Regions from separate parts of the Homo sapiens genome. Here regions 1, 3, 4, 5, 6 and 7 are each linked to region 2. Evidence: promoter capture Hi-C in 16 types of primary human blood cells and fetal thymus (Javierre and others, 2016). All regions are on one chromosome and are shown on one strand. The core of a region is centred on a gene start or on the middle of the fragment in contact, and the rest is flanking DNA. Distances in the headings are between cores, read along the strand shown. Region 1 has its middle 20 kb from the start of SPIC. Region 2 holds the start of CHPT1 (choline phosphotransferase 1). Region 3 has its middle 23 kb from the start of SPIC. Region 4 overlaps SPIC (Spi-C transcription factor). Region 5 has its middle 24 kb from the start of DRAM1-AS1. Region 6 overlaps DRAM1 (DNA damage regulated autophagy modulator 1). Region 7 has its middle 49 kb from the start of SPIC.

What was found. The method cuts DNA at HindIII sites, captures the fragments that hold promoters and counts their contacts. A CHiCAGO score of 5 or more calls a contact.
Region 1: a contact is called between a fragment that was not itself captured here and the fragment with the promoter of CHPT1 in region 2, in 1 of 17 cell types (M1 macrophages). The highest score is 5.0, in M1 macrophages.
Region 3: a fragment that was not itself captured here is called in contact with the fragment with the promoter of CHPT1 in region 2 in 1 of 17 cell types (M1 macrophages); the score reaches 5.2 in M1 macrophages.
Region 4: a contact is called between a fragment that was not itself captured here and the fragment with the promoter of CHPT1 in region 2, in 2 of 17 cell types (M1 macrophages and neutrophils). The highest score is 7.6, in M1 macrophages.
Region 5: a contact is called between a fragment that was not itself captured here and the fragment with the promoter of CHPT1 in region 2, in 1 of 17 cell types (neutrophils). The highest score is 6.7, in neutrophils.
Region 6: a contact is called between a fragment that was not itself captured here and the fragment with the promoter of CHPT1 in region 2, in 1 of 17 cell types (neutrophils). The highest score is 5.4, in neutrophils.
Region 7: a contact is called between a fragment that was not itself captured here and the fragment with the promoter of CHPT1 in region 2, in 2 of 17 cell types (M1 macrophages and total B cells). The highest score is 6.5, in M1 macrophages.

What each region holds. Positions count from the first base shown.
Region 1 is chr12:101,493,410-101,497,279 of GRCh38, reverse strand. No RefSeq gene overlaps it. Among named protein-coding and RNA genes, the nearest start is that of SPIC, 20 kb to the right of the region's middle. The HindIII fragment of the contact is 3,528 bases long and covers 1-3,272 here.
Region 2 is chr12:101,695,544-101,699,096 of GRCh38, reverse strand. It overlaps CHPT1 (choline phosphotransferase 1), which reads right to left and starts at 1,457. Exons shown (of 9, transcript NM_020244.3): 1 at 963-1,457. The coding sequence starts at 1,235. It also overlaps a transcript of MYBPC1 not described here. RefSeq lists silencers at 724-913, 1,174-1,513 and an enhancer at 1,734-1,983. The HindIII fragment of the contact is 18,657 bases long and covers 1-3,553 here.
Region 3 is chr12:101,450,326-101,453,884 of GRCh38, reverse strand. No RefSeq gene overlaps it. Among named protein-coding and RNA genes, the nearest start is that of SPIC, 23 kb to the left of the region's middle. The HindIII fragment of the contact is 4,497 bases long and covers 1-3,559 here.
Region 4 is chr12:101,477,615-101,481,162 of GRCh38, reverse strand. SPIC (Spi-C transcription factor) reads right to left here. Exons shown (of 6, transcript NM_152323.3): 3 at 3,512-3,548; 4 at 1,469-1,581. Among named protein-coding and RNA genes, the nearest start is that of SPIC, 4.1 kb to the right of the region's middle. The HindIII fragment of the contact is 3,188 bases long and covers 27-3,214 here.
Region 5 is chr12:101,938,273-101,942,160 of GRCh38, reverse strand. No RefSeq gene overlaps it. Among named protein-coding and RNA genes, the nearest start is that of DRAM1-AS1, 24 kb to the left of the region's middle. RefSeq lists an enhancer at 2,036-2,330. The HindIII fragment of the contact is 6,116 bases long and covers 1-3,888 here.
Region 6 is chr12:101,882,137-101,885,967 of GRCh38, reverse strand. All of the region lies in intron 1 of DRAM1 (DNA damage regulated autophagy modulator 1), which reads right to left. Among named protein-coding and RNA genes, the nearest start is that of DRAM1, 6.5 kb to the right of the region's middle. The HindIII fragment of the contact is 3,451 bases long and covers 515-3,831 here.
Region 7 is chr12:101,522,776-101,526,191 of GRCh38, reverse strand. No RefSeq gene overlaps it. Among named protein-coding and RNA genes, the nearest start is that of SPIC, 49 kb to the right of the region's middle. The HindIII fragment of the contact is 5,218 bases long and covers 1-3,416 here.

The DNA of each region.
Region 1 (3,870 bases), core at 259-2,758, 200 kb after region 2:
ATTGCTTGAACCTAGGAGGTGGAGGTTGCAGTGAGCCAAGATCACGCCACTGCACTCCAGCCTGGGTGACAGAGTGAGACTCTTTCTCAAAAAAAAAAAATTAAAAAATTAAAAAAAAAAAAAGAGCTCAATCTCATCTCCATCTCCTTCCCACAGGTCTGTAGGTGGGGCTGAAAATTCACACCCTTTAATCACCGGCTCTTTCTGGGACACACCCCATCCTTAGGCTATCTAGAGGCCCCACCCTAAGTCATCTCATTAGCATAAATTTCATGTGGTAAAAGGGGACTTGTTAAAAATAGTAAAAGATACTCCCTTGCTAGGGCATGGTGGCTCATGCCTGTAATCTCAGCACTTTGGGAGGCTGAAACCAGAGGATTGCTTGAGACCAGGGGTTCAAAGCCAGTCTAGGCAACATAGGAAGACCTGTGTCTACTAAAAAAATAAACAACGAGCTGGGCGTGGTAGCACATGCCGGTAGTCTCAAGTATTCAAGAGGCTGAGGTGGGAGGATTGCTTGAACCTGGGAGACAAAGGCAGGCTGCAGTGAGCCGTGATCAGGCCATGGCACTCCAGCCTGGGTGACAGAGCAAGACCTTCCTAAAAATCAAATAAAATAAAAAAGATACTCCTATCACTCAGGGAAATTTGAAGGGTTTTAGGAGCTGCATGCCAAGAAAGAAGAACAAAGACCAATTTTTAAAAATATAAGGCCGGGCGCAGTGGTTCATGCTTGTAATCCCAGTACCTTGGTAGACTGAGGTGGGAGGATAACTTGAGGTCAGGAGTTGAAGACCAGCCTAGCCAACATGGCGAAACCCTGTAGCTACTAAAAAGACAAAAATTAGCTGGCCATGGTGGTGTGTGCCTGTAATCCCAGCTACTCAAGAGGCTGAGGCAGGAGAATTGTTTGAACCTGGGAGGCAGAGATTTGGGTGAGCTCAGATGGTGCCACTGCACTCCAGCCTGGTGACAAAGTGAGACCCTGTCTCTAAATAAATAAATACACCAATAAAAAATAAATAAAAATATAATACCACAACCTATGATACATAAAGAGAGTGCATTAGTAATTTATTTTTTTTTAAAGGCCGGGCGCAGTGGCTCACGCCTGTAATCCCAGCACTTTTGGAGGCCAAGGCAGGCAGATCACGCGGTCAGGAGATTGAGACCATCCTGACTAACACAGTGAAACCCAGTCTCTACCAAAAATACAAAAAAATTAGCCGACTGTGGTGGTATGTGCCTGTAGTCCCAGCTACTCAGGAGGCTGAGGCAGGAGAATCGCTTGAACCCGGGAGGTAGAGATTGAAGTGAGCCCAGATCATGCCACTGTACTCCAGCCTGAACGATGGAGCAAGACTCCATCTCAAAAACAAAACAAAACAAAACAAAAAAAAACAGCAATAAAAGCCCAGAACTAAATGGCTTCACCACTGAATTCTACCAAATATTTAAAAGATTTTTTTTTTGAAAGGGAGTCTTAACACTACATACTATATGAATTCACTTATGTGATAGTGAAGAAGGTGGGTATAGATTGGAAAACAACGTGAGGGAACATTAGAAGGTGCTAGGAATATTCTGTATTTTGGTCTGGATGTTGGTTATATGGGTGTATACATCAATCACAATATACAGTAAATATTAGTGCACTTTATATTTATTATACCCCTTGAAAAAAATTAGAAGCTAAGTCTAAACCAGGCTGTTATCCATCTGATGCTAGCCAGCAGGAGCCTTAGAATGATTTCAACTTAGATATACTCTACCTTTAAAAACCTAGAATTAGGGGATTTGAATCTTGGAAATCATAGGAAATTGTTTACATGAAAGTAGCAGGCCGGGCACGGTGGCTCATGCCTATAATCCCAGCACTTTGGGAGGTCGAGGCAGGCAGATGGCTTCAGCTCAGCAGTTCGAGACCAGCCTGGGCAACATAGTGAAACCCCATCTCTATAAAAAATACAAAAGTTAGCCAGATCTGGTGGTGGGCATCTGTAATCCAGCTACTCGAGAGGCTGAGTCTAGAGGATCATTTGAACCTGGGAAGTAGAGGCTGCAGTGAGTCAAGATTGTGCCACTGCATTCCATCCTGGGCAACAGAGCAAGACACTGTCTCAAAAAGAAAAGAAAAAAAAAAGCCAGGCGTGTCTCATGCCTGTAATCCCAACACTTTGGGAGGCCGAGGTGGGTGGATCACTTGAGGTCGGGAGTTCAAGACCAGCCTAGCCACCATGGCGAAACGTCATCTCTACTGAAAATACAAAAATTAGCCAGGCATGGTGGCATGCATCTATAATTCTAGCTGCTTGGGAGGCTGAGGTACAAGAACTGCTTGAAGCTGGAAGGTGGAGATTGAAGTGAGCCAAGATCACGCCACTGCACTACAGCCTGGGTGATGGAGTGAGACTCTGTCTCAAAAAGAAAAAAAAAGAAGCAGTCAAAATTAAAATTAAAAAAAGACAAATGCAAGACTCCAGTCAAAATTAAAATGTAAAAAAACATGAAAGTAGCATATGCCTCAAGGCATTCTTAGTGGATTTTTATTATTTAATTCAATTTAATTTAATTTTTTTTTGAGATGGAGTCTCGCTCTGTCACCCAGGCTGGAGTGCAATGGCGCAATCTCGGCTCAGTGCAAGCTCCGCCTCCTGGGTTCATGCCATTCTCCTGCCTCAGCCTCCCGAGTAGCTGGGAGTACAGGTGCCCGCCACCACGCCCGGCTAATTTTTTGTATTTTTAGTAGAGACGGGGTTTCACCGTGTTAGCCAGGATGGTCTCGATCTCCTGACCTCGTGATCCACCCACCTCTGCCTCCCAAAGTGCTGGGATTACAGGCGTGAGCCACTGCGCCCAGCCAAATGAAAATAAAAGGAACACATACTTTATAGGATTGCTGTGAATAGAAAATGGAAAGTACTTAGCAAAATGCCTGCCATATAAAAGTGCCAAGTAAATGTTAGCCATTGTTACTGCTAAGAAAGTGGCTCAGAGAGGAACTTACCTGTCACCCTTCTCCCTGGTGTGCTAACTTCACCCCCTGCACAGCTCTTTGATGTTGGCTTTGGCAGAAGAGGGTGAGAGGACCCAGAAGAGACAGGGAAGTGGCAAGAGGGCCCAGAGAGAAGACTAGAAGACCTTAGCAATAAGGAAGGAGAAAATGGGGCGAGGCGGGTGGTGGGAAGCAGATGAGCATATAACTAATGACATTCACTGAATTCATTGAAAGGATCTTTTCTTTTTTTAATTTCTTTTTTATTTAAAAAGCTTTTTCACTTCATACTGGATACCCCTGATGTGGCATAATCTACCTTGCACAGGAAAAGCAGGAGAAGAATAGGAAGGAAGAATAGAGGGTGGGAGAGAGGAAGGACACGTATTGAAGCTGTCTTTCAGTTTATTATAATTAATGCCATCCTCCACTTAATGCATTTGGCTTTTTCCTTAATTTAGTAAGGAAGATGACTTTGAGTAGGGCTGCTCCATAGAGTATTTTTTATACAGAACAGATGGCTGAGATGAGGAAAAAAAAATATCCTTGGCACTTATGCCTATGAATAGGAAGAACTGAAGGGAGAAAAAAGGATAAATCAACCAGAAGGCCCACCTGCTTCAGGACCAGAGCTCAGAGGAGCATCCAGTGATTTAAAAGAAGTGCTATCACTGATCATCAGGGAAATGCAAATCAAAACCACAATGAGGTAGCACCTCACACCTGTTAAGATGGTTTTTATCAGACTAAATGTTGGTAAGACTGTGGAGAAATTAGAACTCTTGTACATCGTTGGTGGGAATGTAAAATGGCATGGCCACTATGGAAAACAACATGGAGGTTCCTCAAAAATTTAAAAATAGTACTACCATGAG
Region 2 (3,553 bases), core at 208-2,707:
ACAACAACAAAATGGATGCATGCATGGAGGGCATGAAATATTTCCACTGTATTTCTGTTAATCCAACCTCAACCTCCATGAGTCCTCCACAAGGCCTACACTCAAATGATTATAAAGGGACTTCACTATTTGGAGCAGAGAATAGAAAGTAATGTCACAGAATGTGCAATGTAATATTTATCCCACGTAGTATAAACTATAGATGGGAGTGAACTCCACTCTGCCCCCTATCCCTCCACACTCAGCCCAAAGGGTGCTTCTGATGAACAGCTATCCAAAGCCTATATTTACTCCTTATTTTGTACAAAGGTCAAATGTAATTATTGCTAATAAAATGTTGGGGTTTTTTTAATCCCTAGGTTGTGATGACAAAAAAATTATTGCCTTGATAACATTCCAGTTTGTTTTTCTTGAAAAAGTCGATGAAGCAAAGAGGAAGTTACCTCTTAACTCATCTTTGATCAGTGCTACCGGTCATTTCAAGATCACTAGCTCAACCTTCCAGAAACGAACGGTTACGAAAGTATTCAAAGGGCGTCTCGGGCTTGGCACAAGTCCCTGTGCCAGGCAGGACGGAGATGGGGGTGTTCAGTCCCCAGTGTGCAAAGCACCCGACCGCGGGTCCGTCTCACAGGTTGGCGCCGCATGGGATAGCGGCTGGGCAGGCGCCCTCCGGCCCGTCCGCGGCCGTGGGGAGGATCTGCGCGGACATAGGACCTGGGGCAGTGACCTTAACAGCCCCTCCGCTGCCCAGGGGAGGCTTGGGATGGTCACGGGATTGGGATAGTGGCGTGACAGTCTCCAGGCGGCCCAGGGCGGACACCGCCCGGGGCAGTGGCCAGTCCGCCCCTCCGGGGCCCGGGAGAGGCTCAGCCGCGCGTGGGTCCGCCCTTCCCCCGGCGCCTCCAGCGACCCGCCCGCAGCGCATCTGGGGCCCGGCTCGGGCGATCGGCCAGCCCTACCTCTTCGGTGGCCGTGGGACAGTAGGAGATGAGCACGAGCGTGGTGACCACGTTGACGGCGAGCCCCAGCAGGGTGATGGAGTTGGGGGCCATCCAGAGCGGGATCCACTGGAGCAGCCAGGTCCAGTAGAGCTGCAGCGGCGGCTCGAGCAGCGAGACGCCCGCCGCGCTGTAGCGGTGCTCCTCCAGTCGCCGCAGCTGCGCCGCGCTCAGCGGCTCGCTCAGCGCCCTCAGCCAGCGCGGCGCGGACCCGGCCCCGGCGCCTGCCGCCATGGCCGCCTGAGGGCCCCGCCGCCGCCACCGAGCGCAGCCCGCGCCTGGCGCTGGGGGCAGGGAGAGGTGGAGGGAGAGGCTGGCGGCCGGGTCCTGCGACTGCCGGGCTGGACTCACCGGTCGGGCCCGCACGGCGGAGGTCGAGGTCAGGCCGGCCTGCCCGGCTGCCGGGGCCCCAGCCCCAGAAGCTGTGGGGCCGCGGCTGCGGCTCGCGGGTGGGGCGGGGCCTCGGGGAGGGGTCCGGCTGGGGGCGGGGCGGAGGGGGTCCTGCTAGGGGCGGGGAGGCGGGTGCCGCGCTCGCGGGTCACCCTCGGCGCCCGCCAACGGCAACTTGTTATCGGCGATCAAGGTCCTTGACTCCCCAGGGGCCGGCTGCACTGCGCCTGAGGTCTGATGTCTTAACCCACGGCGTCGGATTACGCCCTGAGGTCGTCTCCTCGCGGGCTGCACCACGACCGAGCCGGTTCCTCTCCTAGGGGTCGGAACACGACTCCGGTCGCCCAGTGTTAGCCACTGCAGGACCACGCTGCCCGCAGAGCCTGGGGGTTTTCGTGTGAGAACACAGTTTTGCAGGGCTCGGGTCACGGGGGTGACGGCCCCATCTGTCCTGCTTGGTAAAACACACAAGCACAATTCTCCCTTTCTGTACGGAGGAAGGCGGCCCTGCCATGTATTCGCTCTAGAGACCCATCACTGCGGATTCAGAGACCAAGGTTTTGAAACTGAAAATCAGGGCTTAGAAACACTAACAAGGAGACCGAATGGCTGAAACCCCGATACCTATTTTCTTCAGCGCATTTGATACCAACAAGGGTGAATATTTTTACACATACTCTTCCCTGGAATAAAGGGCAGGAGTGTCCTCCCCCTGCAAGGGGGAACAGGCTGGCTTGCCACACGCATTGGTAGGTCACCGGCCCCTTATCTCACAGTGCACTCACTTGGACAGGGGACATCTGTCATAAACACGTTCTGTTGCACAACCTGAGACAGGCCTGTCACTTGCTTTGCTCTTCACTTCATGGCTCTGATCTGCACGCACTTTCTAAGGCCTAGGACAAGCCAGAAATTGCTTCCAAGACACTTGTGTGGCGCAACCTCTATCGGCAAGTGCAGTTTGCCTCACGGGCTTCGTCAAACACTTGGCACAGGGGTCCACGAACTGCTGCCTGTGTGCCAGACCCAGCCCACCACCTGTTTTCCTACAGCCCTCCAGCTAAGTATGGTTTTGACATTTTTAAATGATTGGAAAAAATCAAAAGAATACAATTTTGTGTTGTGAAATTATATGAAATTCAAAGTTCAGTGCCACGAATAAAGCCATGTTTATTCCTTACCTATTGTTTGGCTGCCTTCATGCTACAAGGGCAGCAGAATTCAGTTGTGACAGACCGTATGGCTGGCAAAGCCTGGACTATGTCCTACTAGGCCCTTTAAGGAAAAAACTGGCAACCACTGCCTTAGAGCAATGAGGGTCTCTACAGACCAAGCGTATATGTCTTAGGAATATGGATCTCCTCATCTTTAGTGTGAAAAACGATGCTGACAAATGCAGGAAAGGAAATGGAATGATGGAGATCCACTTTTAACAATGCTGGTTTATGTGCAGTGAACTTGACAGTAACTACTTTTTAATTTACCGATGCCATGAACAGTCCAAGGAAAAAATCCTTTTCTAGATTAGCCGATTTCACTGTATTAAAGATAATTTTTAATGTACATCAAAAGACGTCATCAAGAGAATGAAAAGACAAGCCATAAACTGGGAAAAGGTATTTCCCTCAAAACCCACAATGAGTAGAACCCAGATTATGTAAAGAACTCCTAAAAATCAATCAGAATAAAAAATAATCAACTGGGCTATGTTCTGTTTCTATAGGAGAAGCCCTGGAACATGGTAATGTTCCAGGGTGCACTTATGAACATGAGTGAATTGCACAAGCATATGTTGACTGAAAAAAAAAAAGAAGCAGGTGTATTAGTCAGCTTGGATTGTCATAACAAAATACCACAGACTGAATAGCTTAGACAACAGGAATTTATTTCTCTCTCACATAAAAGAAGTACAGAATTGGCACTCCAAGACTGGTACGATGTTTCCATGGTCATCAGGAACTCAGGCTTTTCTGTCTCTCTGCTCCAATATCCTCTCTGACTTGTATCTATAAGGCCATCTCATGATTCAGAATGGCTGGTGAAGCTCCAGTCATCTTATTTGTGTTTCAAGCAGCAGGAAGGAGTAAGAGGACAGGAAAAACAAAAAGTAGATATCACTGGCTGGTGAGCAAACTGGGGTGCCTCTCCAAAACTCCCAAACA
Region 3 (3,559 bases), core at 640-3,139, 250 kb after region 2:
AGTTTTACCCCCAGGTAATTAGTAGTATCAGTACCATGATGCAATGAAGGAAATCAAGTCACACAGATTCTCAAGGTCAAAATCTAGGAGGTGGTGGAACCAAGCACAGTGACCTTCTAAAGTTCACGCTTTTCTCCATTGTTCTTTCCTTCTGGGCGCACATAATAATAGCCTGCTATTGGAACTGGGTGTGGTGGTGTGTGCCTGTAATCCCGGCAACTCTGGAGGCTGAGGCAGGAGGATGGCTTGAACCCAGGAGTTTGAGGCTGCAGTGAGCTATGATTGTGTCATCACACTTCAGTATGGACAACAGAGCAAGACCCTGCCTCTAAAAAATAAAACAGGATGGGAGTGGTCGCTTATGCCTGTCATTCCAGCACTTTGGGAGGCCGAGGCAGGTGGCTCACTTGAGGCCAGGAGTTCGACACCAGCCTGACCAACATGGCAAAATTCTATCTCTACTAAAAATACAAAAATTAGCCAGGCATGGTGGCGTGAACCTGTAATCCCAGCTACTCTGGAGCCTGAGGCAAGAGAATCGCCTGAACCCAGGAGGCGGAGGTTGCAGTGAGCCAAGATGGCATCACTGCACTCCAGCCTGGGCCACAGAATAAGACCTTGTCTCAAAATAAAATACAACATAAAAAATAATGGAAAAAAGAAAAATAATCAGCTGTGGTTGGTTCTAAGGAACTTAGACTACCCAGGAATGTCAGAACAAAGTCCAACTTGACAACGAAAGCATTCAAAAGTTTACTAATCCTAGTGATTTGAACATAGAACTACCAGTCTCCCAATTCCATGACCTGCCAGGTAAACATTTCTAACGCTTTGAATGAAGTTCTAGGTCCCTAGAACACTTTGCAATGGATCCTTACCTGTTCTGAGATAACTATAGATTAAGTGAGGGTCAATTTCAACTCTGCTCAGCTAATATTTATATTTTATCACTTTTCAAAAATCAGCTATCCTTAATTGAGAACGTACTATGTGTCTAGCATTGTTTTAAGTTTTAAGCATCTCACATATATTAAATCATTTATTCTGTATTGCCTTTTTCTTTCTTTCTTTCTTTTTTTTTTCTTTGAGTGTCTCACTCAGTCACCCAGGCTGGAGTGCAGCAGTGCAATCTTTGCTCACTGCAACCTCTGCCTCCGGGGTTCAAGTGATTCTCCTGCCTCAGCCTCCCAAGTAGCTGGGACTACAGGCATGCACCACCACGCCCGGCTAACTTTTGTATTTTTAGTAGAGATGGGGTTTCACCACATTGGCCAGGCTGGTCTCAAACTCCTGACCTCAGGTGATCCACCTGCCTCTGCTTCCAAAGTGTTAGGATTACAGGCGTGAGCCACAACACGTGGCCGTATTCTATGTTTTCTATATTGGTCTGCAAAAGAAGCATGCCTGTGGCAGGGTGCGGTGGCTCACCTGTAATCCCAGCACTTTGGGAGGCCAAAGGGGGCGGATCACCTGAGGTCAGGAGTTCGAGACCAACCTGGCCAACATGACGAAACCCCATCTCTACTAAAAGTACAACAATTAGCCAGGCATGGTGGCAGGCACTGGTAATCCCAGCCCAGGTGGCTGAGGCAGGAGAATCGCCTGAACCCAGGAAGTGGAGGTTGTGGTGAGCTGAGATCATGCCATTGCACTCCAGCCTGGACAACAAAGTGAGACTCCATCTCAAAAAAAAAAAAAAAAGAAGCATGCCTGCAAAAAAAGAGAAATTTGAAAGTTAGCTTTTTACCTATGGTTTTCTGAAAACTAAAGTAAATAAGTAAATAGGAATTCTTAGACAGAGCAATCAGGCAAGAAAAAAAAATAAAGGGCATCCGAATTGGAAAAGGAAGTCAAACTATCTTTTTGCCAATGATACAATCATATACCTAGAAAATCTTAAAGACTCCTCCAAAAGATGCCTATATTTGATAAATGAATTCAGTAAACTCTCAGGGTACAAAATCAATGTACACGTCAGGTGAAGTGGCTCATACTTGTAATCCCAGCACTTTGGGAGGCTGAGGCAGATGGATTGCCTGAGGTCAGGAGTTCCAGACCAGCTTGGCCAACATGGTGAAACCCCATCTCTACTAAAAAAAACAAATACAAAAATTATCCAGGTATGGTTGTGCATGCCTGTGATCCCAGCTACTCGGGAGGCTGAGGCAGGAGAATTGCTTGAACCTGGGAGGTGGAGGTTGCAGTGAGCTGAGATCGTGCCACTGCACTCCAGCCTGGGCAACAGAGAGAGACTCCATCTCCAAAAAAAAGAAAAAAAAAGAAAAAAGAAAAAAAAAGAAAATCAATGTACACAAATCAGTATCACTGCTATGCATCAACAACAACAAAGCTAAAAATCAAATCAAGAACTCAATCTCTTTAAAAATAGCTGCAAAAGGCAGGATGTGGTTGCTCAAACCTGTAATCCTCACACTTTGGGAGGCTGAGATAGGAGGATCACTTGAGGCCAGGAGTTCAAGACCAGCCTGGTTAACATAGCAAGACTCCATCTCTATAAAAAAAAATAATAAAATAGCTGCAAAAAAAATAAAATAAAATAGCTGCCAAAAAAAAAAAAAAACAACTAGGAATGTACTTAACCAAGGAGGTGAAAGGGCAAGAGTTCGAGACCAGTCTGGTCAACATACCGAGACCCTGTCTCTATAAAAAAAGTAACAATAATAATAGTGGCTCCTGAGCTGCTTGCTAGGACCCGCTCCCACCCTGTGGAGTGTACTTTTCGTTTTCAATAAATCTCTGATTTTGTTGATTCAAAAAAAAAAGTAAAATAGCTGCAAAAAAAAAACAATAAACAAACAAAACAAACACCTAGCAATATACTTAACCAAGGAGGTGAAAGGATCTCTTTTAATCAAGGAGGTAAAAAATCTCTAAAAGGAGAACTACAAAACACTGCTGAAAGAAATCATAGATGATACAAACAGATGGAGATATGTCCTATTCTTATGAATTGAAAGAAGAATCAACATTGTGAAAATAACCATATTTCGCAAAGCAATCCACAGATTCAATGCAATTGTTTTTTTGTTTTTTTGTTTTTTTTGAGATGGAGTTTCACTATTGTTGCCCAGGCTGGAGTGCAACGGCACCATATTGGCTCACTGCAACCTCCATCTCCTGGGTTCAAGCGATTCTTCTATCTCAGCCTCCTGAGTAACTGGGATTACAGGCACCCACCATCACTCCCAGCTAATTTTTTTTTTTTTTTTTTTGAGATGGAGTTTTGCTCTGTTTCCCAGGCTGGAGTGCAGTGGCACCATCTTGGCTCACCACAACCTCCGCCTCCCAGGTTCAAGCGATTCTCCTGCCTCAGCCTCCCAAGTAGCTGGGACTACAGGCACATACCACCATGCCCAGCTAATTTTTTATTTTTATTTTTAGTAGAGACGAGGTTTCACTATGTGGCCAGGCTGGCCTCGAACTCCTGACCTCATGATCCGCCCACTTTGGCCTCCCAGAGTGCTGAGATTACAGGCATGAGCCACCGCATCCAGCCTAATTTGTGTATTTTTAATAGAGATGGGTTTTTATCAAGAAG
Region 4 (3,548 bases), core at 371-2,870, 220 kb after region 2:
GGGGACAGGAAGAAGCAGCCCAAGCTTCTACCATTTACATATGGCAAGAAGAATATGTGGGTTTCCAAGGGTTAAACACCGGAAGGGGCTGGGCTTGAGCTGTCTTTCCACACCCCAATCAAGAAGGCTGACCAGCAGGCAAGGAGTCCCCAGGGATAAGAGGCTGTGAGGCACATGCTAGAAAATGGGAGCTGAAGTAGAAAGAAGAAGGGTTGCCAGATTTAGCAAACAAAATATTGGGCATCTTGCATTTTACCTGGCAACCCTAAGTGGAGGTGGAAGAGGTTAAGCTGGAACCAAAGCACCCTCTATTTAAAATTTTTATTTACAAAATTTTTTTTTGAGACAGGGTCTTGCTCTGTTGCCCAGGTTGGTCTCGAACTCTTGGGCTCAAGTGATCCTTCCTCCTCAGCCTCCCAAAACTTTGGGATTACAGGCGTGAGCCACTGAGCCCAGCCCAAAGCACTCTCTTAAAATAAAATGTCTTGTGAAGAGGCCCCAAGGGAACAATTTATAGAAACAGAAAAAGGACATTTGACATGGTGTGATTGAAGGTAGTGACTGAAGAAAAATAAAAACCAATTCACATTTATACCTCATCCCATGAAGACCGCTTGATAAAATGGATGCATGAAGAAGACAACTAAAAGAATACATGAATGGGGAGATGGCAGGGTGTTTCCCTTTGCAGATGCTGCTATTAATAAAATATCAATGAATTGGTCCAATACATGCAGATAACACTGAGTTTGAGAAGGAAAACAGAGCAGTCTAATACAAGACTGTAGGTAAAACCAGTGCAGGGGCAGTTTGGATCTTTGCCCTGTGGCTTTTAGGGGAAACTTTTTGCAATTTCCCAGATGGACTAAGGAGAAGCAACTGATATTAACATCCTGAAAACACCTCCTTTTTACGAAGTCATCCAAACCAGTCTGAGGCTAAGTAGAGAGCAATGATGAAGGGTTATTTCCTTCCTAACAGCATGTGATCATCCATGTTGACTGTCAAGTTCAGACTACAGCTGATGGCCCTTAAAAAGCATTTTCAGGTAGAGCACAGTGGCTCACGCCTGTAATCCTTCCCTTTGGGAGGCTGAGGCTGGTGGATCACCTGAAGTCAGGAGTTTGAGACCAGCCTGGCCAATATGTGGAAATCCTGTCTCCACTAAAAATACAGAAGTTAACTGGGCATTGTGGTGCACGCCTGTAACCCCAGCTACTTGGGAGGCTGAGGCAGGAGAATCACTTGAACCTGGGAGGCAGAGGTTGCAGTGAGCTGAGATTGAGCTACTGAACCCCAGCCTGGGTGACAGAGCCAGACTCCATCTCAAAAAAAAAAAAAAAAGAAAGAAAAAACCATTTTCATAGTCAATGCTGTCTTTAAGCTGGGTTTCAGACAGTGTATGTGAAATGGAAGGCTGGCAAGAATAGGATATTTGCCTGTTATTAAGGGATGGTCTGATACTTACAATTACCGTTCTCCAATTATAGACAGGCTCCTCTGTAGGCAACACTCCATAGCAGCTGGAATTTCCTTTGACATGAGGACGATGGTTGATTAAAGCCAGGTAATTTCTGTAATCTAATTTTAAATCAGAGAAAGAAACTAAAAAAGTCAAAGTTTGTATTTGTGCATATAAATATGTGTGTATATATATGCACTTATAGATGCAATTGCTCTCATCTATGTTTTCTTGCCACTTTGCACTTCTCCTGTGGTGTTTATCTCATTATGCTGCTATTATGGATACTGTTATACATATCCCATTTGGAGAACATGCTCCTTGCAGGCTGAAACCGCATGATTTCTTTCTTTCTTTCTTTCTTTCTTTCTTTCTTTCTTTCTTTCTTTCTTTTTTCTTTCTTTCTTTCTTTCTTTTTCTTTCTTTCTTTCTTTCTTTCCTTCCTTCTTTCTTTCTTTTTCTTTCTTTCTTTCTTTCCTTCTTTCTTTCTTTCTTTCTTTCTTTCTTTCTTTCTTTCTTTCTTTCTTTTTCTTTCTTTCTTTCTTTTCTTTCTTTTTTTTTTTTAAGACAGGGTCTTGCTCTGTTACCCAGGCTGGAGTGCGGCCACGTTATTTCGGTTCACTGCAGCCTGTGCCTCCTGGCCTCAAGTGATCCTCCCACCTCAGCCTCCCAAGTAGCTGGGACTCCAGGCACACGCCACCACACTTGGCTAATTTTTGTATTTTTTGTAGAGACAGGGTTTTGCCATGTTGCCCAGGCTGGTCTTGAACTCCTGGGCTCAAGTGATCCACCCACCTTGGCTTCCCAAAGTGCTGGAATCACAGGTGTGAGCCACCATGCCCTGCCCACATGATTTCTCTTATCTTGGAACACCCTGTAATACCCTATATAAACTTAATACATAACATATTTGCATTCTATTTAGACTATATAGTCCATAGGATAATGGGTGAGGAAGGATAAAAATACTTATTCTTCCAAGTAGAATATATCTTGTTGTGTGGGTGGAAGGTCTATAAGATTCATTGGAACAATTTAAAAGCCTTTCGTGAATAGTTAAAATGAACTGTCTATTAGATAAATAAATGTCAACCAGATATTTCTAATAGCAGATAATTATATATCTTTGTATTTCTGTGTGGAATGTCATCCTCTATATTCTCTGCATTTTTATATGTGAGACTTTAGTTTTATTTAGGCTAGATACTCCTGGACATATTTTGCCTTTGCTAGAATTAATCCTGGATGCTTCAGGTAAAAATGATCTCGTTTTTGAGTCCAGGAGTTCCAGACCAGCCTGGGCAACATAGTGAGACCCTGTCTCTACAAAAAAATAAACAAATAAAAATTAAATTAAAGATAAAAAAGGTCACCGGGCACAGTGGCTCATGCCTGTAATCCCAGCGCTTTGGGAGGCCGAGATGGGCGGATCACGAGGTCAGGAGATCGAGAACATCCTGGCTAACACGGTGAAACCCCGTCTCTACTAAAAATACAAAAAATTAGATGGGCATGGTGGCGGGCGCCTGTAGTCCCAGCTACTCGGGAGGCTGAGGCAGGAGAATGGCGTGAACCCGGGAGGAGGAGCTTGCAGTGAGCCGAGATCGCGCCACTGCACGCCAGCCTGGGCGACAGAGTGAGACTTCGTCTCAAAAAAAAAAAAAAAAGAAAAAAGAAAAAAGAAAAAAAAGGTCTTCTCTGTTCTGATCATTATCCTGGAATACAGTGGCGCCATCTCGGCTTACTAAAGCTTCTGCCTCTCAGGTTCAGCAATTCTTAAGCCTCAGCCCCCAGAGTAGCTGGGATTACAGTCGCGCCACCATGCCTAGCTAATTTTTGTATTTTTAGTAGAGACAGGGTTTCGCCATATTGGCCAGGCAGGTCTTGAATTCCTGGTCTTAAGTGATCTGCCCACCTTGGCCTCCCAAAGTGCTGGGATTACAGATGTGAGCCACAGCACCTGGTCAGCTGATCATTATTCTTATATGTGTATGTGACCAACAAGCCATTTGATGTACCAGCAGAAGAGGGTAAATGACTCATCTTTACCTGGCGAGTACTGAAGATCTCCAGTTGAATGTTGCCT
Region 5 (3,888 bases), core at 1,086-3,585, 240 kb before region 2:
GTTCACCCTTAAAGGGGCCCAAGGAGTGGAGCATCTGGATTGGGGCGAGGGTTCATGACAGTGCATGTGTTTTGAATTGGTGATTCTTTTAACAGAAGCAGTTTGGAACCAAGACTGGGAAGCTGCTGCTAACTGGAATGTTCTAGCCATGTTTCATGTTCCCTGAGGGCAGAGCTGGTGGCTCTCAGTGTATTGGGGGGATTTAAGTTAGATGCTAGGAAGAACTTGTTTACTATAATAGTTGTGAAAGGCAGATACAAATGTGGTTGTAGAATGTTTCTATCTCTAAGAAGATAATCTGAAGATAGTAGAGGGGGAAGTATCTTTCACAGATAGAGGTTATGAACTGAGCATCCTCCAGTAAGAAAGAGGAAGTGAGAACAAAGAAAGTAATAGCATAATACTTCTGAGTAGTTGTTTCTTCAGTCCAAATAGACCTAAGTTCAAATCCTAGCTTACCAGTTCCAATTAACCACTCTGACCCTCAGTTTCCTCCTCTAACAGGAGATCACAGTACACCCGCCTCTGAGAGTGACTGTGAGGTTGAGACAAAATATATCCAATAATATGGGAGGTGTTCAATAAATATTCATTTTATTCTTGTCTTACAAATCTTTTCCTATTCTGCGACTCTATGATTCAGCACTTCCTGGAATTCTAAGGCACTAGAAACTTTCCAAAGAGTTTGAACTGCTTAATTGCTAGCTTCCAAGCTCTTCCCAGCATTTCTTTGAGAGGTGAATAGTAGAAATGGATCACAAATCAGACAGACAAATGCATTTTGTTTGCTGGTCTAGCAATATCCCCTTACATGCTATTTTCTCCATTGTTCTCACTGGGACAAGAATGGGATTGTCAAAAACAAGTCGCACACTGCAGTGTGTAGAATTAGGATGGGATGTGGCTATTGCTCCTGCACTTTGCTGCCTGCAGAGATAAGCACCTGAAGTCTCTTAAGGGCTTGAGACTGGGGTCCAGCACAGGGCGGTGGGAAGGGCATTGCTTTGGGGAACAATTGTCTAGAAGCTCCCGGACTGGCCGGGCTGGTACCTCTCTGCATGACTCCCTGGTCCTCTCCTGTACATAATGCAAGGATGAAATTAGGTGAATGCAAAAGACTCTCCAAACTCAGAGTTTCTCTGAGCTGGTGATTGCTATGGGTGGAGAGTGATTCCTCTGTCCTTTGCTGGTTTCTGTGGGCTATATTCCTGGATCTTGTTTTCTCTTTCTCTTGAGGAAAACATTTTAAAAGTATATGTAAAGTCTTCTCCTACGTGGGAGGCTCTGCGTAGGGGCTGTGTTGGCGGGTAATAAGGGAAGATACAGAGAAAAAAATAACCAACCTGAGCATTTGCTGCTGACAATTACCTTAAGTCTCTTGTGTTTGGCTCTGTAAGTCTCTTGTGTTTGGCTTGGATAGGGAGACCTGTCTGTCTTGTTCTACTTCACAAGAGAACAATAAAGACATGATAAGTGAGAAAAAGCTATGTGATATATCCACATACGTGGGAGGCTCTGTGTAGGGGCAGTATTCGCTGGTAATAACCTCCTCTCCCCTCCTCTCCCCTCCCCTCCCTTCCCCTCCCTTTCCCTCCCTTTCCCTTCCCTCCTCTCCCCTCCCTTCCCCTCCTCTCCCCTTCCCTCCTCTCCTCTTCTCTCTCAATTGCCTCCAATCCTTTTATAGCCTGCCACATCATTAAAAAGAGTCTTATTGTATAAGTCTTGAGCCCAAAGTCTAGAGAAAAAATTTAAATTACAAAGAACTTATGTCCTAAAGAAGTTTGTTCTTTTCCTCACATGTGCAATTTATTCCCCCTTTAAAATGAGAAAGCTGGTGAAGGAAAGAACCACTCATTTCTCAACTCATAGGCGCTATGTTTCTTCAATAAGAACTTCCACAGTGGAATGTAGTTGCCCCAAGGTGGAAACAAACCATTGACAAGCAGTTGTTGAAAAGAGTTGCTTTATGTGATTTTCTATCTATAAAGGGAATGAGCAAAAGAAAGATGTTAACCTATCCTGATTCTATCTCATTGTATTCCTCCAACAGAAAGCCAGAGAGAAACCCAAATTGCTCTCAGTAGCTTTCCATTCAGCTAGAAAAGGAATTGCTGAAATCCCTCCCTCCGTTTGCTACAACTTTGGTTTGCCCTTTCTTGCTGAGTTTGTGGAGGGGTGGCCATACTACAGTCCCCTGGTGCCCCCTGTTGTTCATATTGCGAAAATAACCAGGCAGCATGAACTACTAAACTTTTGGTTCCTTATCTTAAAACGCTTTAAACCTTTTGGATGCATCTCAAAAATCCAAAATTGTGACTCCACCTTTAATTCACTGAGGGGAAGTTTATAGTCAACTTATATTATTATTTCATAAACTTACAGAATGTGAGGGAAGGTCCTTAGAATCTATTCAGCCAATTGTGTGTTTTGTTCTGTTCTGTTTTGTTTTGTTTTACCAAGTATGGGATTAGTTATGAGAGATATTTGCTGTTATTATGTGAAACCAAAGAGGGTTAGGAAATGCTGGGTTAAATAAGAATTAAGTAACATTAAATAAGGAGCTTCTTTCCTGCTGGCCTTCTCAGAGCATTTAATATGGACTGTGTCTCTCCCAAGGGAAAGGCAATTTCCCAATCGTGCTTTTGACAACAGAACCGCTTTTTATATGAATTTCTTGCAGGGCCAATATTCCAGGGAACACACTTGGGAAGTGCTAATCAAGTCCAAATGAATCGTTCTAGAAGTCTGGAAACTGAGGCCCAGGGAGGTGCCAGTGACTGGGTGGTAGTAGACACTGCAAGGCCCCTGTCAGGAGGCTCCCAGGCCACTTCCTCACCAGGATCCCTCCCATTCATTGGAGTTGGCCTTTAGTATTTCTGTATCCATAAAGCGTGTTTACTTGTGGAATGGGGAATGGTGTTGCCTTTAGCCAAGGATGTTGGAAAAGTTTAGTAAACCTTTTTTCAAGAATGTTCTAACTTCTTGGGGAAGAGAATTTGCTTCCGGTATTTTCAATTCAATTTCTTTCTGTCTCTTGTGAAGAACTTCATTGCTTTCTAAAAAGCTCCTATTCAACAAATTTGCATTAAGCACCTACTATGCACAGATACAGAGGAGGTCAAGATAATGCACTACTTTGGATAAAAGAAAATATTTGGGGGTCAAGTTCTGGTTCTGCTACATCCTGACTGTATAATTGGACAAGTTGCTTATCATCTTCTAAGACCCAGACTCCCCATCTATAAAGTGGGGGTAATAATACCCCCTCCAGAGGAATTGTTGAGGATTCCATTAGATAATACATGTTAAATGGCCAGCACAGTGCCAGCACATATAAGTACTCAATGAATATTTGCCACTGCTGTTATTGTTGTTAGGATTGTTATTGTTAGGATTATTGAGGCATGGTCCCTGCCCTCAGGGACTTAGCTCAGCTGGAGAAAGAAGACAAGCACGCTCAGAAACTTTAAATAGCGATATAAGGGAATAGATAGATCAGAGACAGCAACTAGGCTTCACAGAACTCCAATCAGCCTTTAGTGGCTGCCTCCAGTGCTGTGTTGGGAAGAATTCTGAGGGTTTTGCCAGCTACACAAGGAAAAAGCACCACCATCAATTAGTGATGTCTGTCACGGATGTGTGGAGAGTGGGTACGTGCTTATATGACATGTATTTGCCATTCTTAGAATGAATAACGAAATGCCAGGTGTGGCAGATTAGACAGAACAGTGGTTTCTGGAGGAGGTAAGAAAGTTGGACCTGGAGAATGGGTAGGATGTGAATGGAAAACAGATAAAGGGAGGAAGAAATATTTGACACTCAGAACTTGTGGCATATGCCAAGGATAAAACCAACATGGGCCACTTGGGTGGCAGTAAGTAAATTAGC
Region 6 (3,831 bases), core at 991-3,490, 190 kb before region 2:
TGCCTGCAATGTGTCAGGCTCTATCACAAATGCTGTGGACAAACCCCAAATCTCTATCCTCATGGAGCATATATTTTGTGTGAGACAGGTAATAAACAAGATCAATATCCTTACATATAGATTAAGAATGGCCACTGGGAGGCCGGACGCGGTGGCTCACACCTGTAATCCCAGCACTTTTTGAGGCCGAGGTGGGCAGATCACTTGAGGCCAGGAGTTCGAGACCAGCCTGGCCAACATAGTGAAACCCTGTCTCTACTAAAAATAAAAAAAATTAGGTGGGCATGGTGGCGGGCACCTGTAGTCCTGGCTACTCAGGAGGCTGAGACAGGAGAATCACTTGAACTGGGAGGCAGAGGCTGCAGTGAGCTGAGATCATGCCACTGCTCTCCAGCCTGGGTGACAGAGCAAAACTCTGTCAAAAAAAAAAAAAAAAAAAAAAGTCCAGTGGGAAAATTGGAGTCTTCAGACATTTTTGCAAAAATGAACCTCTTCCTATCCCCCTTCAAAAGCTTAATGTGGTTCATGGGAAACCTGGTGTTAAACCATTCACAGACAACCTGCTTCTGGGGCAGGGTTTCGTAGTAGCAGAGCAGCTCCCTCCCTCGATTTGAGCTACTGAAAGTCAGCGCTTGACACAAGGGTTTATCAAAAACAAACAAAAAGAGAAGAAGGAAACTTTCTTTAAAGTTAAATGTGAAATGAAAGACTTACTATAATATAATCATAAAATTGTATTGGAAAAAGAATGCAAGGCTGGGTGTGGTGGCTCACGCCTGTTATCCCAGCACTTTGGGAGGCCAAGGCGGGAGTTCAAGACCAGCCTGACCAACATAGAGAAACCCCGTGTCTACTAAAAATACAAAATTAGCCGGGCGTGGTGGCACATGCCTCTAATCACAGCTACTCGGGAGGATGAGGTGGGAGAATCGCTTGAACCAGGTGGCAGGAGGTTGCAGTGGGCCAAGATTGCGCCATTGCACTCCAGCCTGGGCAACAAAAGTGAAACTCCATCTCAAAAAAAAAAAAAAAAACATTTTCTCTATAAAGATCAGCATCTGAAGATTTAACACACACTTGTCATAACCCAAAATTTGTGATTGTTACATAAATGCAAGTTAAAATCGTTATTTTCCTAATTTTTAGTATCATTTTTGAAGTTAAAGACCTGACCAAACTTCTTTTACTTCATTTACTCTGCAATTTTGTTCCTCCTTTTAAAGTGGCTTGATTCTAGGTGACCCAGTTTTCTGTCATCAACTACTGAGCAGAGATTATGGGGTCATGAGGTAGGACAATATGGGTGGCCAAAGGCCACAATCTATCCCACAAAACTGTATTCACATGGAAAGTGAGACGTGCTAATAAAGAGAAAAGCCAGGATCTAGAATCGGCAACACTGAAGAGTAAAGGATCACAGAATATCATGAGCAAGATATCATGGCAGGAGACACATGCCAAAAAGAAGATGGAAGACAGTGATCTATCAGCTGGAAAAAGTTAATAATTTGATAAGAAACTATAACAAGTTAAGCATGATTTGGCTTGAGAATGTGGGTGTGGCCGTGTGCAAATCTTTTTTTTTTTTTTTTTTTTTTGAGACAGGGTATCACTCTGTCACCCAAGCTGGAGTGATCACTGCAGCCTCAGACTGCAGGCTCAAGTGATCCTCCCACTCAGGCTCCTGAGTAAGTGGGACTGTAGGTGCATCCTACCACGCTCAGCTAATTTTTTGTATGTATTGTAGAGACAGGGTTGCACCATATTGCCCATGGCTGGTCTCAAACACCCGGACTCAAGTGATCAGCCCACTTCAGCCTCCCAAAGTGCTGGGATTACAGGCATAAGGCACCACACCCGAGTGCAAATCTAAACTAATTTTTTGAGATTAGCTTTTATTTGTCCTTCCTTTTGATATGCTTTTGTTAATGGTTTCAGAATAAGAAATATCACTTTATGCTATTCTAACTTGTTATATCTCACGGTGGTTGGTCCCATGTTTTTATTTTGTATTTATTTATTTTTTTTTTTTTTGAGAAAGAGTCTCGCTCTATCACCAGGCTGGAGTGCAGTGGCACAATCTCGGTCCACTGCAACCTCCACCTCCGGGTTCAAGCGATTCTTCTGCCTCAGCCTCCTGAGTAGCTGGGACTACAGGCACATGCCACCATGCCCAGCTAATTTTTGTATTTTTAGTAGAGATAGGGTTTCACAATGTTGGCCAGAATGGTTGCGATCTCTTGACCTCGTGATCCGCCTGCTTTGGCCTCCCAAAGTGCTGGGATTACAGGCGTGAGTGAGCCACTGCGCCCGGCCTCATGTTTTTAATTTAATTTTCTGATAGGAAACATTCATGCGGGGCGCAGTGGCTCACGCCTGTAATCCCAGCACTTTGGGAGGCCGAGGTGGGCGGATCATGAAGTCAGGAGATCGAGACCACCCTGGCTAACATGGTGAAACCCCGTCTCTACTAAAAATACAAAAAAATTAGCCAGGTGTGGTGGCACGTGCCTGTAATCCCAGCTATCAGGAGGCTGAGGCAGGAGAATCGCTTGAACCCGGGAGGCGGAGGTTGTGGTGAGCCGAGATCGTGCCATTGTACTCCAGCCTGGGCAACAAGAGTGAAACTCCATCTCAAAAAAAAAAAAAAAAACCTATTTGGGTAAAAAATAAAACAAAAAAGTATGCCTTATAATTATCCTTTTTCCCCATCTGCCAATGTCTCACTGACCTTGACCTACTCCTCCCTCCATCACACACAGATAAACCACTTTCATTAGTTTCTTTATGCAAGCTAATGCAAATATATATTATTTTTCTCCTCTTTTTTCTTAACTAACGAGAGCATAGGTTGTTCTGCATCTTGCTTTTTCCCATGTAACAATGTATCTTGGAGATTTTTCCATATAAGTGTATTGACGTAAAAATCTGCTAGGTACAGAGAGCTTTCACTTGAAGTATCCTTTAATAAATAAACCATATTTATTTAGGCAATTCTCTACTGATAGTCATTTGTAGTTTCCAATCTTTTGTTATTCAAAGCAATGCCCTGAGTAACTCTGCAGAAATGCCATTCTTCACATGGGCATGTACACCTATAGGATAAATTTCAAAAAAAAAAAAAAAAAAAAAGGCTGTTGCATCAAATGATGGGGGGGTGTGTGTGTATCTGTCATTTCCATAGATATTGCCCAAGTCCCACCATGGAGACTGAAATCAATTCACGTTCCTGTAAGCAATGTATGAGAGAGACTGTTTCCCCATATTCTCACCAGTACTAGTATCAAACATTTGGGTTTCTGCTAACCCACTAGATCACAACTGGCATCAGTGAGTTTTAATTTGAATATTTATTCCTATTCATAAAGTTGAGTATCTTTTCATGTGTATAAGAGCCATTTGCCAATTTATCCAATATGCTGAAGAATAACAATGTTACAAGGAGAAAGTATCTGATAAGGAAGCTGATTCTAAATGCCATACTGGGGAGAGGTCCTCCTTATGGTTGTGGCTCTTATTTAAAGTGTTCAACTGTGCTAAAAACATTAGACCATCAGGGGCCGGGCGCGGTGGCTCACGCCTGTAATCCCAGCACTTTGGGAGGCTGAGGCGGGCGGATCACAAGGTCAGGAGATCGAGACCATCCTGACTAACATGGTGAAACCCCGTCTCTACTAAAAAAATACAAAAAATTAGCCGGGAGGGGTGGCGGGCGCCTGTAGTCCCAGCTACTCGGGAGGCTGAGGCAGGAAAATGGCGTGAACCCGGGAGGCGGAGCTTGCAGTGAGCCGAGATCGCGCCACTGCACTCCAGCCTGGGAAACTCCGTCTC
Region 7 (3,416 bases), core at 688-3,187, 170 kb after region 2:
TGCAAAATTCATATATTGAAGTCTTAACCCCTAATATCTCAGAGTGTGGACTTTTCCTTTTCTTTTTTTTTTCTTTTTAGACAGAGTTTTGCTCTTGTCGCCTGTGCTGGAGGGCAGTGGAGCAATCTTGGTTCACTGCAACTTCCACCTCCCAAGTTCAAGCAATTCTCCTGCCTTAGCAATCCAGTAGCTGGGATTACAGGCACCCGCCACCACGCCCGGCTAATTTTTGTATTTTTATTTTTAAAAAATTTTTTGAGATGGAGTTTTGCTCTTGTTGCCCAGGCTGGAGCGAAGTGGCATGATCTCGGCTCACTGCAACCTCTGCCTACTAGGTTCAAGTGATTCTCTTGCCCCACCCTCCCTGTAGCTGGGATTACAGGCACCCACCACCACACCCAGCTAATTTTTGTATTTTTAGTAGAGATGGGATTTCACCATGTTGGCCAGGCTGGTCTCGAACTCTTGACCTCAGGTAATCCACCCACCTCGGCCTCCCAGAGTGCTGGGATTACAGGCGTGAGCCACCATGCCCTGCCAGAATGTGGCCTTATTTGGAAACATAGTCGATAGGGATGTAATTAGTTAAGAAGAGGTCATACTAGAATAGCGTGAGTCCTAATTAAATATGACTGGTATCCTTATAAAAAGGGGAAATCTGGACAGAGAGACAGACATGCATAGAAGGAAGACACAGAGAGAAGATCCACATGAGTGTTGCCATGCATGAAGATCCACAGAGAGAAGGTGATCACCTGCAGGCCAAGGAGAGAGGTCTGGAGCAGATCCTCCCCTCATTGCCCTCAGGAGGAGCCAACCCTGCTGGCACCTTGATTTTGAACTTCTAGCCTCCAGAACTGTGACATAATATATTATTGTCATTAAGCCACTCAGTTTGCAACACTTTGCTTCAGTAAACTAACACAGAATGCAATATATTCTAATGATATTTGTGTGTTTAATTCTACCAAGAAGTATTGAAGGTGACTTATCATGTTTTCCTCATTTATGGGCGACATCCCCAAAGCTCATAAGTAAAGGGCTTGACCAAGGTCAAGTAGAGCCACAAATTGTCTCCATGTTCTCTTTCTAAATCTGGGTTCCCCAGAAACAATTCTCCACCTAAATCCTTAGAAGGATGTCACAAATGGTAAAGTCATTTATTCCTAGCAAACCAAACCTTTGCTGAGGATGCAGACTTTGTTACCCATTAATAGCAGAAAGGATGCTAGATCAATTATTAAAAGTACCAGCCGGGCGCAGTGGCTCAAGCCTGTAATCCCAGCACTTTGGGAGGCTGAGGTGGGTGGATCACGAGGTCAAGAGATTGAGACCATGACCATACTGGCCAACATGGTGAAACCCCGTCTCTATGAAAAATACAAAAATTAGCTGGGCATGGTGGTGTGCACCTGTAGTCTCAGCTACTTGGGAGGCTGAGGCAGGAGAATCACTTGAACCCGGGAGGCAGAGGTTGCAGTGAGCCAAGATTGAGCCACTGCACTCCAGCCTGGCAACACAGCAAGACTCTGTCCAAAAAAAAAAAAAAAAGTACCATGAAAAATTTAAGGAGGAATTTGTGCTTGCTGAGTTTTCTCCAAAAGAAGAAAATCATCATTTAACATGAAAAGCCGTAAGCATCCCTGAGTAGTGGCAGGTATCAGTGGATTGATACTCAGGGTGGCAGGAGGGGAAAAGACATAATAGCAAAATACACAAAATAAATAACCAGGCAGGGGAGGCAACTGACCTCAGTATTGAGACCATGTTATTCCCCCTGTTAGCTTCCTTCAAAGTTCTTAAAATCCTTCTTATGGCCCTTAGGATCAAATCACACTCCAGCCCTGACCTCCAAGGCCTGCCCTCCAGCTCGTCTCATCTCATTCTTTCTCTCATCACATGCATGCTGCCCCCAGCTTCTCACATGACTGGCTCATTCTTCAGGTCTCAATGCAGAGATCATCTCTTTAGGGAGGCCTTCCCTGCCTACCTGATGTAACATGGACCCCCTCCACCATCTTGATTCCATGTTCCACTTTGAATTCTCTGAAGGGCACTTAGGACATTTTTGTTTAACTACTTATTTGGTCATGATCTGTCTTTCCATTCTAGAAAATGAGATCCATGAAAGCGGGGACCTCATCTGTCCTGTGTTCCTCGCAATGCTCAGTGGGGTTCAATAAATGTTGGCTGAATAAATGAATGGGCAATTTTCATTTAAATTAATAAAGAAGTTTGGGCCCGCTGTGGTGGGTGACACCTGTAATCCCAGCACGTTGGGAAGGCTGAGGCTGGAGGATTGCTTGAGGTCAGGAGTTCGAGACCAACCTGGGCAATATGCTGAGACCTCATCTCTTTTGGCAGTTTATGGAATGTTTCATTGAAATTCTGTTGGTGCCAATTATTAATATAATATTAGTGCAGGAGTATGGGGGGAGGTCTTTAACAAAATTAAGCATCCCACACACACTGTGAGAGGCTGAATGGTTTTTCTTTTCTTTCCCTTTTTTCTCTTTCTTTTTCTTTTTTTTTTTTCTTTTTCTTTTTTTTGAGCTGGAATTTTGCTGTGTCACCCTGGATGGAGTGCCGTAGCACAGTCTTGACTCACTGCAACCTCCACCTCCCGGGTTCAAGCTATTCTCCTGCTTCAGCCTCCCAAGCAGCTGGGACTAAAGGCACACACTGCCACACCTGGCTAGTTTTTGTATTTTCAGTAGAGGCGGGGTTTCTCCATGTTGGCCAAGCTGGTGTCAAACTCCGAACCTTAAGCAATCCACCCGCCTCAGCCTCCCAAAGTGCTGGGATTACAGGCGTGGGCTACCATGCCCAGCCTGGCTGAATGGTTTCTTTCTTGACCCTAGAGTAGGAGAGTGTGACTGTATGACGTATAGAAGAATCTCAGTACACCAGGTCCTCACAAAATGTCCTTTCTTTCAACATCGTTTCCTTATAACGTTGATGAGGAAAAAAAATGCTTCCTAGCTGGGGCTGCAGTCTGAAATTTGCATGTTCCCTCCATGTCTGCATAGATGTTCTTCAGGTTCTTCGGTTTCCTCCCACATTCCAAAGATGTGTGCATGTTAGGTTAACTGGCACGACTGAGTGGTCCCAGGGTGAGTAAGCGTGGGTGTGGGAGTGGGTATGGGTGTGGTTGTGAGTGTGCCCTGCAGTGAAATGGTGTCCTGTTCAGGGATGGTACCTGCCTTGTGCCTTGAGTGCCTCAGTCAGGCTCCAGCCTCCTGAGACCCTGAACTGAAATAATTGGGTAAATCATTATCTTACCTGTTTTTATTAATTCTTCTTAAACATAGGTATAGCTTACATTCGTTTCAATGTTTAACATGAGAAGTGTTTTGATCTTTATTTAGAAATTTGGTGATGTTGGCTGGGTGTGGTGGCTCACACCTGTAATCCCA